Linked DNA regions of Homo sapiens: region 1 is linked to region 2. Evidence: promoter capture Hi-C in human tissues and cell types (Jung and others, 2019). All regions are on one chromosome and are shown on one strand. The core of a region is centred on a gene start or on the middle of the fragment in contact, and the rest is flanking DNA. Distances in the headings are between cores, read along the strand shown.

Region 1 (6,140 bases), core at 388-2,887, 62 kb before region 2:
CCTGAGAAGAGTCTCACCTGCTCTGGGATTATCTGGATTTTTGTCTGGGTGGCAGGAGAGGGCCTTCTGCCTATACGCCTTCTTTACCTGGAAGAGTCAGACAGAAGACATGGCCATTCACTCTCATCCCAGGGACAAACAGGAAAACCTTGCTCAATGGGTAAGGGGAATCCCATGCACACCTAAAAGAGAAGCTGCTGGCGCCCACTTCCTAGCCACCAGGGAGACTGGCAATGGAGGAGGCCAAGGCCATGGAGGGAGTGAGCCACTGTCGCCCAGCACAGGAGCTGGGCCCACCTCCTGCTAAGTGCTCAACCTCACCACTGCAGATGTCCAGGGGCTGCTGCAACAGGCAGGAGCACAGTACCCCGCTTTCTCGACAGCCACTCGAAGACAGGTACTCTACACATTCTTGGTGGGCATATAAACTGGGGCAACCTATCTGGAAGAAAATTCAGCCATCAAAATTTAAAATGTTCTTTCCCTTTGACCCAAGTCCTAGGAATCTGGACTTGTAGAAGTATGGCAAAAATAAATATACAAGGATGCTCTCTACAACACTGTTGATACTAGCCAGCCAAGATCCCCATCAACGGGGAGACTCATTTAAAAGATTATGATTGGCCGGTGCGGTGGCTCACGCCTGTCATCCCAGCACTTTGGGAGGCTGAGGTGGACAGATCACCTGAGGTCAGGAGTTTGAGACCAGCCTCACTAACATAGTGAAACTCCATCTCTACTAAATATACAAAAATTAGCTAGGCATAGTGGCGGGCAGCTGTAATCCCAGCTACTTGGGAGGCTGAGGCAGGAGAATCGCTTGAACCGAGGAGGCGGAGGTTGCAGTGAGCCGAAATCGCACCACTACACTCCGGCCTGGCGACAGAGCAAGACTCTGTCTCAAATAAAATAAAATAAAATAAAATAAAAAATAAAATAAAAGATTATGATTGAGGCCGGACATGGTGGCTCACGCCTGTAATCACAGCACTTTGGGAGGCTGAGGCGGGTGGATCACTTGAGGTCAGGAGTAGGAGACCAGCCTGGCCAACATGGCGAAACCCCATCTCTACTAAAAATACAAAAATTAGCTGGGTGTGATGACATATTCCCCTGTAATCCCCCTACTTGGGAGGCTGAGGCATGAGAATCGCTTGATTCATGCAGGAGGCAGAGGTTGCAGTGAGCCAAGATTGTGCCACTACACTCCAGCCTGTGGGACAAGAGCGAGACTCCATCTCAGAAAAAAAAAAAAAAAAAAAAAGATTATGATTGGCCAGACATGGTGTAATCCTGTAATCCTGGCATGTAATCCTGTAATCCTCATGCCTGTAATCCTGGCACTTTGGGAGGCTGAGGTGGGCAGATCACTTGAGGTCAGGAGTTCGAGACCAGCCTCGCCAACAAAGCAAAACCCTGTCTCTATTAAAAATACAAAAATTAGCCGGGCATGGTGGCGTGCACCTGTAGACCCAGCTACTTGGGAGGCTGAGGCAGGAGAATCACTTGAGCCCCAGAGGCGGAGGTTGCAGTGAGCCGAGATCATGCCATTGTACTCTAGCCTGAGTGACAGAGGGAGACCTTGTCTCAAAAAAATAATAAAAAATAAATTTCAAAAAGTTTGTTCAGGAATTTGCCACGCTTATTAAAATTTTTTTTAAATAAAATATTATAGTAGACAGAGGTATCCATGTTCTGACATAGATCTTATTATAAACTTTTGAGTTTAGTCCAGGTGCGGTGGCTCAAGCCTGTAATCCCAGCACTTTGGGAGGCCGAGACAGGTGGATCACGAGGTCAGGAGATTGAGACCATCCCGGCTAACACGGTGAAACCCCGTCTCTACTAAAAATACAAAAAAATTAGCCAGGCATGGTGGCGGGCGCCTGTAGTCCCAGCTACTCGAGAGGCTGAGGCAGGAGAATCGCTTGAACCTGGGAGGCAGAGGTTGCAGTGAGCCGAGATCACACCATTGCACTGCAGCCTGGGAGACAGAATGAGACTCTGTCTCAAAAAAAAAAAATTTTTTTTTGTCAGGTGTGGTGGTGCATGCCTGTAGTCCCAGCTACTCAGGCGGTTGAGGCGAGAGGATCGCTTGAGCCCAGGAGTTCCAGCCAAGCCTGGGCAACATGGCAAGACCTCATCTCTACAAAAATTTTTTAAACATGAGCCAGGTGTGGTAGCATGTGCCTTTGTCCCCCTACTCAGGAGGCTGAGGTGGGAGGATCACTGGAGCCCGGGAGGTTGAAGCTGTAGTGAGCATGTTCACACCACTGCATTTCAGCCTAGGTGACAGAGTGAGACCTTGTCTCAAAAATAAAAATAAAAAAATTTTAAATTAAATTAAAATAAAATAAAAAATTAGCCAGGCATAGTGGTGCGTGCCTGCAGTACCAGCTACTAAGGAGGTTGAGGAGGGAGGATCACCTCAGCCAAGGATTTTGAGGCTGCCGTGAGCTATGATGATGCCACTGCACTCCAGCCTGGGTGACAGAGCAAGACTCTCTCTTAAATACATAGAAAGAAAGAAACCCCAATATTTCTTACATAAGTAAAAATAAACACAGCTACCAAGATTCTCTTTCGTGTGCTACCTAATAGCTGTTGTAAGTGAAGACAGTGTACACAACCCCAGAATCCGTCCTCTGCCTCCAAGGCCTTTGCTTTCTCCCTTCTGCTTGGTGTGTGTTACCTGCTGCTCAAACCTCCTGGAGGAAGAGCTAAGCAGATTGGATTTCTAAGCTTCCAAGATGGACGCAAGAAACGCTTCTACACCCAAGTGTGCTAAATAAGGACTTTCAGAGGTAAGCAGCCAGCATCCACAAGGTGAGCACCTGCTGGGCAACTCCTCCATCCATGAGGCAGCCACCGGGCCCAGGACCTCTAGGGGTGTGCTGCCACCTGCTGGGCCATAGCCAGGGCACCTGCCATGGCAGCCCAAGCTGTTTGGTTCTCCTGACTGCCTTGGAGGCAGCAGGAACCACCCAGGACAGGCGCTGGGCAGAGAGGGTGTAGACGTGCCACCTGCCTTCCCAATCGCCCACCGAAGCACATCTGCCCTGCCTGCTCACCTCCCACCCTAACCCTCCCTGCCTAGCTCTGTTTTCACTACAAAAAAGAACAATATTAAGGGAAAGGAGGTGCTAGCTTAAGACAGTGTCATCTTTGCAATATATCATCTTTACTTTTTAGGTCCCTTATCATTCGTCTTTTCTTTCTTTTGCTCTCTTTGCCTGCTTTATTGTGCCTCCAGCCTCATTCCTTTACTGAACATATTTTATATTTCAGGGCCCCTGTTTGCTTTTTTTCAATAAGTAAAACAATACCAAAAACATTATAAAGATGTTCTTTCTCAATCTCCCCAGCCCTCTGACATCAAGGTTCATTAACACATATAAAAGCACCTACACACACTGACAGGAGTCTGTTGGGTGTTTGTTCCTGGCCTCTGGGCCCCTCCTCTCTGATCCTATCTCCACCCTCTCTCTGGGATGGGTGAGAGGAAGGGAGGGGGAGGCGGTCCATGTCCCAGTATCTATGGCATCACCTGCAACACTACCTTCAAGATGAACTTCCTCAGGACTAGGACTAGTAGGCTTGCCCCAGGGATGTAGGGGGGTTTTGTGGAAGATGTTTTCTTTTGTATCATGGGGCTCTTTTAAAGTGGTTTAGGCTGGGCATGGTGGCTCACACCTCTAATCCCATCGCTGTGGGAGGCCGAGGTGGGTGGATCACTTGAGGTCTGGAGTTTGAGACCAGCCTGGCCAACATGGTGAAACTTGTATCTACTAAAAATATAAAAATTAGCCGGGTGTGGTGGTGCATGCTTGTAATCTCAGCTATGGGGGAAGCTGAGGCAGAAGAATCACTTGATTCCGGGGGGCAGAGGCTTCAGTGAGCTGAGATCGTGTCACTGTACCCCAGCCTGGGTGACAGAGTAAGGCTCTGTCTCAAAAAAATAAAATAAAAGTTTGTATGTTCCTTGTTATAAATCTGAGAGGGGGAGTAGAAGTGAGTGTGAAGAAGAAGGAGCAGGCTGGGTGTGGTGGCTCACGCCTGTAATCCCAGCATTTTGGGAGGCTGAGGCGGGCGAATCAGTTGAGGTCAGGAATTCGAGACCAGCCTGGCCAACGTGGTAAAACCCCGTCTCTACCAAAAATACAAAAATTAGCTGGGCGTGGTGGCACACGCCTGTAGTCCCAGCTACTAGGGAGGCTGAGGCAGGAACCTGGGAGGCGGAGGTTGCAGTGAGCCGAGATTGCACCACTGCACTCCAGCCTGGGCGACAAAAATAAAATTCTGTCTCAAAAAAAAAAAGAAGGAGCAGTAAGAAAGCAAGACAGAAGGGGTGTCCAGCAGTGGCATCTCCTTCATTTTCTTTCCTTTTTTTGAGAGAATGCTTTCTGAATTTTATTCTAAGGGAATGATAAATATTCTTTTGTGTTTCATAATTTATTTTGAATGTTCTATATTGGAATTTTGGTTTTTCACTGTAATAGGAAAATAAAATTATTCAAGCTGAAAAATCCACTCATATTGTCAAATATGCTTTACATATATTAACTTATTTAATTCTTAAAGCCCCTATGAGGTAGAAATTATTATCCTCCTCATTTTACAAATGAGGAAACTGTGACATAAGGGTTAATTATGATACCCAAAATCCATTCAATGAAAAGCCATACAAACATTACTTTAGGCAAAAACTATTCTACTCCAGCCAATTACCACAGAAAAAACAGTGGACACCACCCCACCCATGCCATCAAAGGCCAGGTAGAGAGCATAGACTTCCATTCTTGCTACCCTAAACCTCTGCCAGAGTGGTGTCAGATAAAGCCAAACAGGGAGGCTAGGACTTTCATCCCCAACAGATGGAAATACAAAAATATAAAAATATCTCTGGGCCGGGCGTGTTGGCTTACACATGTAATCCCAGCACTCTGGGAGGCTGAGGCGGGCAGATCACCTGAGGTCAGGGGTTGGAGACCAGCTTGGCCAACATGGTGAAACCCCGTCGCTACTAAAAATACAAAAATTAGCTGGGCATGGTGGTGGGAGCCTGTAATCCCAGCTACTCAGGAGGCTGAGGCAGGACAATCGCTTGAACCCAGGAGGCGGAGCTTGCAGTGAGCCGAGATCATGCCATTGCACTCCAGCCTGGGAGGGAAGAGTGAAAGTCCATAACAACAACAACAACAAAACAACAACAACAACAACATCTCTGAAAGAAAAGGGATATCCCCGAAAAAGCTTCCAGTCTCAGTATCGTTTATTATTAAATAATCCTACCTTATAAACAGCTGAAAGGGTTATAGCTGATATTTACTTTCTATAATAAGCTTGTATTACTTTTCAAGTGATACAAGAAAAAAACTGGTAAGAAACAAAAACAAAATTGTTTAGCTTCTTTCCACAATTCTAAGCTAGGAGGCAGCATGGTTCACTAAAAGAGGGCAAGTTCTGGAGTCTGGCAGATGTATTTTCAAATTCGGAATCTTCTACATACTGATAGCATGACCTTGGGCAAATTACTGAAGCTCACACAGCCTTAGGGACTTCAACATCAAACTGAGAAGAATAAATCCTACACACAGGGCTGCTGGAAGGATTAAAGAAAATGATCCGTGTAAGCACCTGACAAAAACTAGGTGCTTCCTACAAGTTCCCAAACCTTTCTCTCCTCTACTTCTGGAAGAGGGTAAACTGTGACACCAGGCCAGCAGGATGCCAATTGGACAGGAATTCAGGAATGGACCCTGGTCCACAGTGGATGCAGGTCAACTCCATTTGAATTCTCTAGGTGGACAGGGCTGGATTTGAGTCTGCTGTGGGGTAGATCTAAAATTCAATCCTGGGTTCACTCCCAGGGTCTCTGAAATACTCTTATTCAAGGGGTAGAAGGGATGGGTAGGTAGCCTGAGATCTTCCAGAGTGGCCTTGAATCAAAACCCAGCTGGCCTAAGAATGTTGGTCAAGTATGTCTGTCTTGATTAACTAGTTATTACTATATTTAACTGTTAAACCTGCCCTGGGCAGGGCCCATCCCTTGGTTTTAGCCTGGAAGACCAGTTTTGACTTTGAACCGGTTGGCCTAGAATTTGGTGCTTTGTACTACAAACTAGATTCCCAGCTTTGTC
Region 2 (6,671 bases), core at 1,643-4,142:
CGCTCCCCTCCCTCCTTCTCTCTTCTGGTAGTCCTCAGTGTCTATTGTTCCATCATTATGTCCATGTGTACTCAATGCTTAGCTCCCATTTATAAGTGAGAATATGTGGTATTTGGTTTTCTGTTCCTGCCTTAATTTGCTTAGGATAATGGCCTCCAGCTGCATTCGTATTGCTGGAAAGGACATGATTTTGTTAATTTTATGGCTGCATAGTATTCCATGGTACGTATGAAGTACATTATCTTTATGCAATCCATCATTGATGGGCATCTAGGTTGATTCCATGTCTTTGCTATTGTGAATAGTGCTGTGATGAACGTACAAGTGCATGTGTCTTTTTGGAAAAACAATATATTTTCCTTTGGGTATATACCCAGTAATAGGATTGCTGAGTTGAATGGTAGTTCTAAGTTTTTGAGAAATCTCCAAGCTGCTTTCCACAGTGGCTGAACTGATTTACATTCCCACCAACAATGTATAAGCGTTCCCTTTTCTCTGCATCCTCACCACCATGTGTTTTTGTTGTTGTTGTTGTTGTCGTTTCAAGTAACATTTATTGAGAACTCTTTGTGTCAAATGCTTTGTCTGCATTAACTCAATTAATCCTCATAAAAAACCTTATGAAGCCCCACTTCCCATTCAAGGAGACTAAGGCAGAGAGATCAAATAACTTGCACAAGGCCACACGAATAGTAAGTGGCAGATGCAAGAGCTAAATCCAGTAGTCTGAGTCTGAAGCTCACAAGTTCAACTTCTCTACAACCTGTCACCACTCTTCGTTCACTACCTGACCTTGATGGAGTCAGTGAACCTTTCTGCAAAGTGGAAGCAATTTTTAGAGTTGTCCTGAGCATTAGCAATCCTATGTCAAGTGCCTGGAGGGAACACAGTGGGCATCTCAACAAATGGTGGGTGCTCACCACTTGAAAGTGAGTTATGGGTTTAAGCAAGTTGAATCTGAGGTGAGGGCAGAACTTCCAGATGAAGTCAGAATTGCAAAGGCCATAAAGCCCAGGGTTTAAGCACTGAAGCCATGGAATTGGCCTGCCTGGGCTCCAATCCCTACTCTGCCGCTTCAATGCTGAATGACCTGACAAGTCAGTTTACCTGTCTGAGCCTGTTTGCTCATTTGTAAAATGGGGCTAAAAATACTACCTCCCTAGGTTTGTTTTGAGTATAGGGTAATATGTGGGCAGTGCTTAGGAACAGAGTTTGGGCATTGTCAGTGCTGAATTCATGTTGGTTTTTATAATGGTGTGTATAATGGATGTAATGATAAATTTATGGTGATGTAATATTACCATAAGGTAATATTTTCCTGTATTAAGATTCTTGAGGTCAGGCACAGTGGCTCACGCCTATAATCCTAGCACTTTGGGAGGCCGAGGTGGGTGGATCACCTGAGGTCAGGAGTTCAAGACCAGCCTGGCCAAAAAGGTGAAACCTCGTTTCTACTAAAAATACAAAAATTAGCTCGGCGTGGTGGTGCCCACCTGTAAGCCCAGCTACTTGGGAGGCTGAGGCAGAATTTCCTGAATCTGGAAGGCAGAGGTTGCAGTGAGCCGAGATCGTGCCATTGCACTCCAGCCTGGGTGACAGAGCAAGACTCCGTCTCAAAAAAAAAAAAAAAAAAATAAATAAATAAATAAATAAAGATTCTTGAATGTGTTAGCCATAAGGGGAAATCAAATCACAACAAAACCCTTTCTTCCCAGTGACTGCACAATCATTTTCTTCATTCCCAGCATACCACCATTGTTGTATATCCACCAGTGTGCCAGGGTCTGTGGATAAACCCTAAACATCCAGAGAAGGGGAGACAGGCCCCAGATTCCCACCCCAACACGCATCATGTGAGCAGCTGGAGGATGTTGCAGTTCAGCAAAATCCAAGGGTTGGCCACAGGATCTGCTAGGCAAAGCTGCTCTGGATGAGAAACTGGGAAGAATGTTCCCATTGGTTTGGGGGTTGTTAAGCCATCAGGAAAAGGTTTGGAATCTGTATTTTAAGAGAGCATGCTATGTGATTCCTTCCTCCAGCCCTGCCTTCATCTGTCTTTCACCTGTTCAGACCCTTGCCGTAGAGAATGGTCTCTTAAGAGTTTTTTACTCAGGAGGAGCAATGAGCTTGGCTTCAAGGAGTCCACTGTTTCGTGAAGGGCATTAACTCAGCTACTTGGTGAACTGGAACCTCCAGGCTTCCAAGGATGACATTTCCCTGGAAGAAAGTAGCCAGCAGCGTCCCCTTTGTGAAAGAGAGGAAGCCTGGGCTCCAGGGAAGGGGGCAACAGTCCAATGAGCCATAGCAGGGAATGGACCGAACTGTACATACAAGATGAGGAGGGGCCTCGAACAACAGGGAAGCCCCGTGGAGCACGCAGGGGAGCCTGGACGCGGGGAATCGCCTCCGTTTCTCACCCTGACAGCAGGGAGGGCTTCCCGGAGCTGACAGTGAGGCAGACATCCCGGATCCCTGTTATCACAGGTGCAGCCACGCAACTTTTGGGTTACCTTCCCGCCACGAAATGGAAATGATTTCCTGAGGGCCGGAAAGATCATTTGCATCGGGCCTCAGGTCTGGGGCTGGGAAAGCAGGCCCCGGCCGGAAAGGAAGACTGGAGGCCGCCGCCCCAGAGGCCGGACCCTCGCGTCCCGGCCGCATCCCCTCCCGGCTGGGTATGCGCTTCGGGCGCGGGGCTCCCTCGCGAGGCTGGACTGGGTGGAGCCCGAGAGCCCCTCCGGGGAGCTGGCTGCCGGGGAGGCACCGGGGCTGCGGGGCCGCGGGGCGGGCCGGGCCTGGAGCTCCGCGCTAGAGGCGGCCGCAGCGCACCGGGCGTGGGCGGGGCCGGCAGCGCAAGGGTGAATGTCGGCCCCGCCCCGACGGCGCTGACTCAGTTTCACCAGAAACCAGGGGGAGAAGGCGGCCGAGCCCCAGCTCTCCGAGCACCGGGTCGGAAGCCGCGACCCGAGCCGCGCAGGAAGCTGGGACCGGAACCTCGGCGGACCCGGCCCCACCCAACTCACCTGCGCAGGTAACCCGGGCCCCCGCGCGCAAGGCCGAGGCGCAGGCGGAGCGGGCTGGAGCATGTCCGGCCCTTTGTTCTGCGCTCGTGCGTGTGTCCGGGTACTTGAGCTCCCTAGCGGTCCGCCTGTCCGTCTGTCTGGCTGCCGGGTCCCTGGAGGGCGCGTGGGAGGGCCGGGCCCGTGCGCCCTCTTCGATCCTGGGGTGCTCCGGTCCCTCCTCCCCGCCACTTCCTCCCGGCCGGCCCGCCTCCTCCAAAGTCTCCCGGGCTGATCAGGTGTGTCTCCTCCTCTGTCCCCTCCCTTCTTCTCAGGTCACCAGCACCCTCGGAACCCAGAGGCCCGCGCTCTGAAGGTGACCCCCCTGGGGAGGAAGGCGATGGCCCCTGCGAGGACGATGGCCCGCGCCCGCCTCGCCCCGGCCGGCATCCCTGCCGTCGCCTTGTGGCTTCTGTGCACGCTCGGCCTCCAGGGCACCCAGGCCGGGCCACCGCCCGCGCCCCCTGGGCTGCCCGCGGGAGCCGACTGCCTGAACAGCTTTACCGCCGGGGTGCCTGGCTTCGTGCTGGACACCAACGCCTCGGTCAGCAACGGAGCTACCTTCCTGGAGTCCCCCACCGTGCGCCGGGGCTGGGACTGCGTGCGCGCCTGCTGCACCACCCAGAACTGCAACTTGGCGCTAGTGGAGCTGCAGCCCGACCGCGGGGAGGACGCCATCGCCGCCTGCTTCCTCATCAACTGCCTCTACGAGCAGAACTTCGTGTGCAAGTTCGCGCCCAGGGAGGGCTTCATCAACTACCTCACGAGGGAAGTGTACCGCTCCTACCGCCAGCTGCGGACCCAGGGCTTTGGAGGTGAGGAGGGTGCCAAGATGGATGGGTTTGGAGAGACTCAAAAAAGGGACTGGTTATGGGGTCCTAGGGGAGACGAACATCAGAGAGGAGTTAAGGAGAGTTCACTTTTTTTTTTCTTTTTCTTTCTTTTTTTTTGCGACGGAGTCTCGCTCTTGTCGCCCAGGCTGGAGTGCAATGGCGCAATCTCTGGTTGCTCACTGCAACCTCCGTCTTCCACGTTCAAGTGATTCTTCTGTCTCAGCCTCCGGAGTAGCTGGAACTACAGGCACCCGCTACCAGACCCGGCTAATTTTTTTTTTTTTTTTTTTTTTTTTTTTTTTGGTACAGACGGGGTTTCACTATGTTGGCCAGGCTGGTCTTGAACTTCTGAACTCAGGTGATCCACCCACCTTGGCCTCCCAAAGTGCTGGGATTATTTCTACCTGAAGCCCTCCTTAGAAGTAGGCAGTACAGCCGAATCAAGCCTGGTGATCAATGGGGTGACAGATGTCACAGCCAGATCGCCTTCACATCGGTAGTAGGCAGTACAAACAGTAAACAAATGAAAGGGGACATGAGTAGGGAGGGCAGGGCCCAGGCTCTGGCTCCTGAACTCAGGATGTTCAGAGGTGATGGGCTGGTGCTCACAGGGAGGCCTTTGGCTCTGGGCTGTGTGTACTGGAGGGGAGAGGAAGTCCCCAGGACTCCTGACCTCTGGCACTGATAGGCTGATTGAAGGAGTGAGCTGTCTGGATGGTCTGGTGACTAGAAAGGCACCTTGGCCAAGCACTGGTCTGGGCACACCGATGCCCTGTCAGGTGAGCCTGGCCATAGTCTCCTCCACTGGCTGGACTTGGGACTGCTTAGCATCTCTCTACCCCCTAGGAATGCATTGGCCTTTTGGTGGTCCAGGAAGACTGCCAGATCCGAGACTAGAAAACAAGCCCAGTCTGCGGTTGATCCAAAGGGAGAGAAGTGATGTTGTAGGCACAGAAGCCTAGAGGCTCTGGGGTGGGGGATGAGGAGGGTTGTGGGGTGAGTCAGCCTGTTGGTATGTATACCTAGTAGGGAAGGGATGTCAGCTGTCCAGGCAGGTGTGTGTGCATGCGCATGAGCCAGACAGGGCTCTCCCTGCTTAGAATCTGGTAGCCAAACCTTGTTTACTTCCATAGATAAAGGCAAAGCGGAGGCCAGGGCTCCTCCTCTTTCTTCCCCGGACTGAACTGTCTGCTGGGATCAGGGCCAGTCCAGAGCCTTGGTTCCCCCTTTCTCTCTACCTGCTGTTCTGGCCAGGTGGGGCTCCAGGGCAGGGGTAGGTCACCTCTCATAACCTCTGTGAGCACTTTACAGCTTACTGATTGCTGTGCCACACATCCTCTCACTCAGGCCTCATCACAACAACTTCCAAAAAGGGTGCTACTAGCAGTCATCCCACTTTTTAGATTAGGAAACTAAGACTCCCATGTTAAAGAATTTGCCCAGGGTAACACTGCCCATAAATGGTAGGCCTGAGATTCACCCCAGGGGAGACCTCCAAAAAAAGTCCTGTGCTGTTTTTCACACAAGACCATCTCTCTGGTAAAAACCTAGCATTCTGACCCAAAATAGCCCAGTGGATAACAGAACCGGGGATTGGGGAGTTTGGGGGCCAGAACTGGGCTGGGGCCACATCTGGGGGTGGTCTCCGTTCTGGAAAGTGGAGAAAGGGCTTTCCTCCGCAGACTTTTCCTGGGCTAGTCTCTCTGCCAGGCTAAGGAGGGTCCTCTTTCCTCCCTATCCTTCCAGTAGCTCTCCTGGGTCTCTGAGGAGAGGCGAGATGGGGATTCCTGTGGATGGGAGGGGGACATATCTGAGGGCCAGTCTGGGCCACCAAGTCCCACTGAACCAGGGCTGCAGCCTGTTCCACAAGGAAGTAGCAGAAAGTGTAGGTGGTGATGACTCTTACTGACCTGAGTTGCTCATGCCCTTCCTGCTCCACAGAGGCCCCATGGGAGTCCCTCTCCAGAGCCAGAGTGTGAAATTCTGGAGTCTGGTCAGGGAGCTTAGCTGGACTATGGCCCCATGGTCTTGAGACCAGCCATCCTCATCTGGAAACCCCCAGGACCTGCCTGTTTGCCACAAGAGAGGGTGGAGTGGGGATTTCCTGGGACATTGAGGGAGGCAGGTAGGGCTTGGACTTAGTATGAGCTCCAGGCCATTCTAGGCCATTCTTAGAGTGCTGCAGTGCTTTGGGAAGAGGAAAAAGCTGTGTGTGTGTCAAGGGGTTTATTCTCACCTGGGTCCAGTTAGAGAGGTTGGAGGTGGGTAATGACAGGGTAGAGCCATTAAGGGCTAGGGTGGATGAGGTGGGTTGGGTGACGTGGGTCACGGGCACTGAGAGCTTCCAAACCTTTGATTCTCCTATTGCATAGATAAATGCTCCCCAGAATGGGTTTGTTTGTTCCTCCTTCTGCCTGTGGCCAGGCCAGGCCAGTACAGATTCCTGCAGCTGGAGGCGGAGCAGCTTGCACTTCCTCTTCTCCCCTTCTCTTCCCCCACCTCTCCTCCTCCCCAGTCCTATGAAGGAGTGGCTTAGGAGGCGGAGTCTGCACTTCCCTGAGGTCCTGAGACCTGGTAACTAACTGGGGGAGGGGCTGGTTTTATTGCCACTCTAGCCCTTTGCTCTCTTGCGGGTGGGAGGAAGGGAGTGGTAAGGCAAGGTACCTGCTCCTTGGTCCTGGGGGCTGGGGCTTGGAGAGGACTGAGTTGTGTTGGGGTGGGATTCAGCCCCTGATTCAGCTCAAAGTCTGATGCATCACTCTGCATGCTACTTCCACTC

Evidence for each region. Contacts are between HindIII fragments. The study calls those that stand out against the background at their distance.
Region 1: a fragment that was not itself captured here is called in contact with the fragment with the promoter of SPINT1 in region 2 in 2 of the 25 tissues and cell types used here (IMR-90 fibroblasts and lymphoblastoid cells).

Annotation. Positions count from the first base shown.
Region 1 is chr15:40,779,911-40,786,050 of GRCh38, forward strand. DNAJC17 (DnaJ heat shock protein family (Hsp40) member C17) reads right to left here. Exons shown (of 11, transcript NM_018163.3): 2 at 18-87. Among named protein-coding and RNA genes, the nearest start is that of C15orf62, 13 kb to the left of the region's middle. The HindIII fragment of the contact is 4,719 bases long and covers 1-3,997 here.
Region 2 is chr15:40,841,156-40,847,826 of GRCh38, forward strand. It overlaps SPINT1 (serine peptidase inhibitor, Kunitz type 1), which reads left to right and starts at 2,893. Exons shown (of 11, transcript NM_003710.4): 1 at 2,893-3,031; 2 at 3,335-3,874. The coding sequence starts at 3,400. It overlaps SPINT1-AS1 (SPINT1 antisense RNA 1), which reads right to left and starts at 3,369. Exons shown (of 2, transcript NR_146468.1): 1 at 3,024-3,369. RefSeq lists silencers at 2,331-2,513, 2,675-2,904, 2,985-3,044, 3,335-3,574 and an enhancer at 2,466-3,037. The HindIII fragment of the contact is 27,771 bases long and covers 1-6,671 here.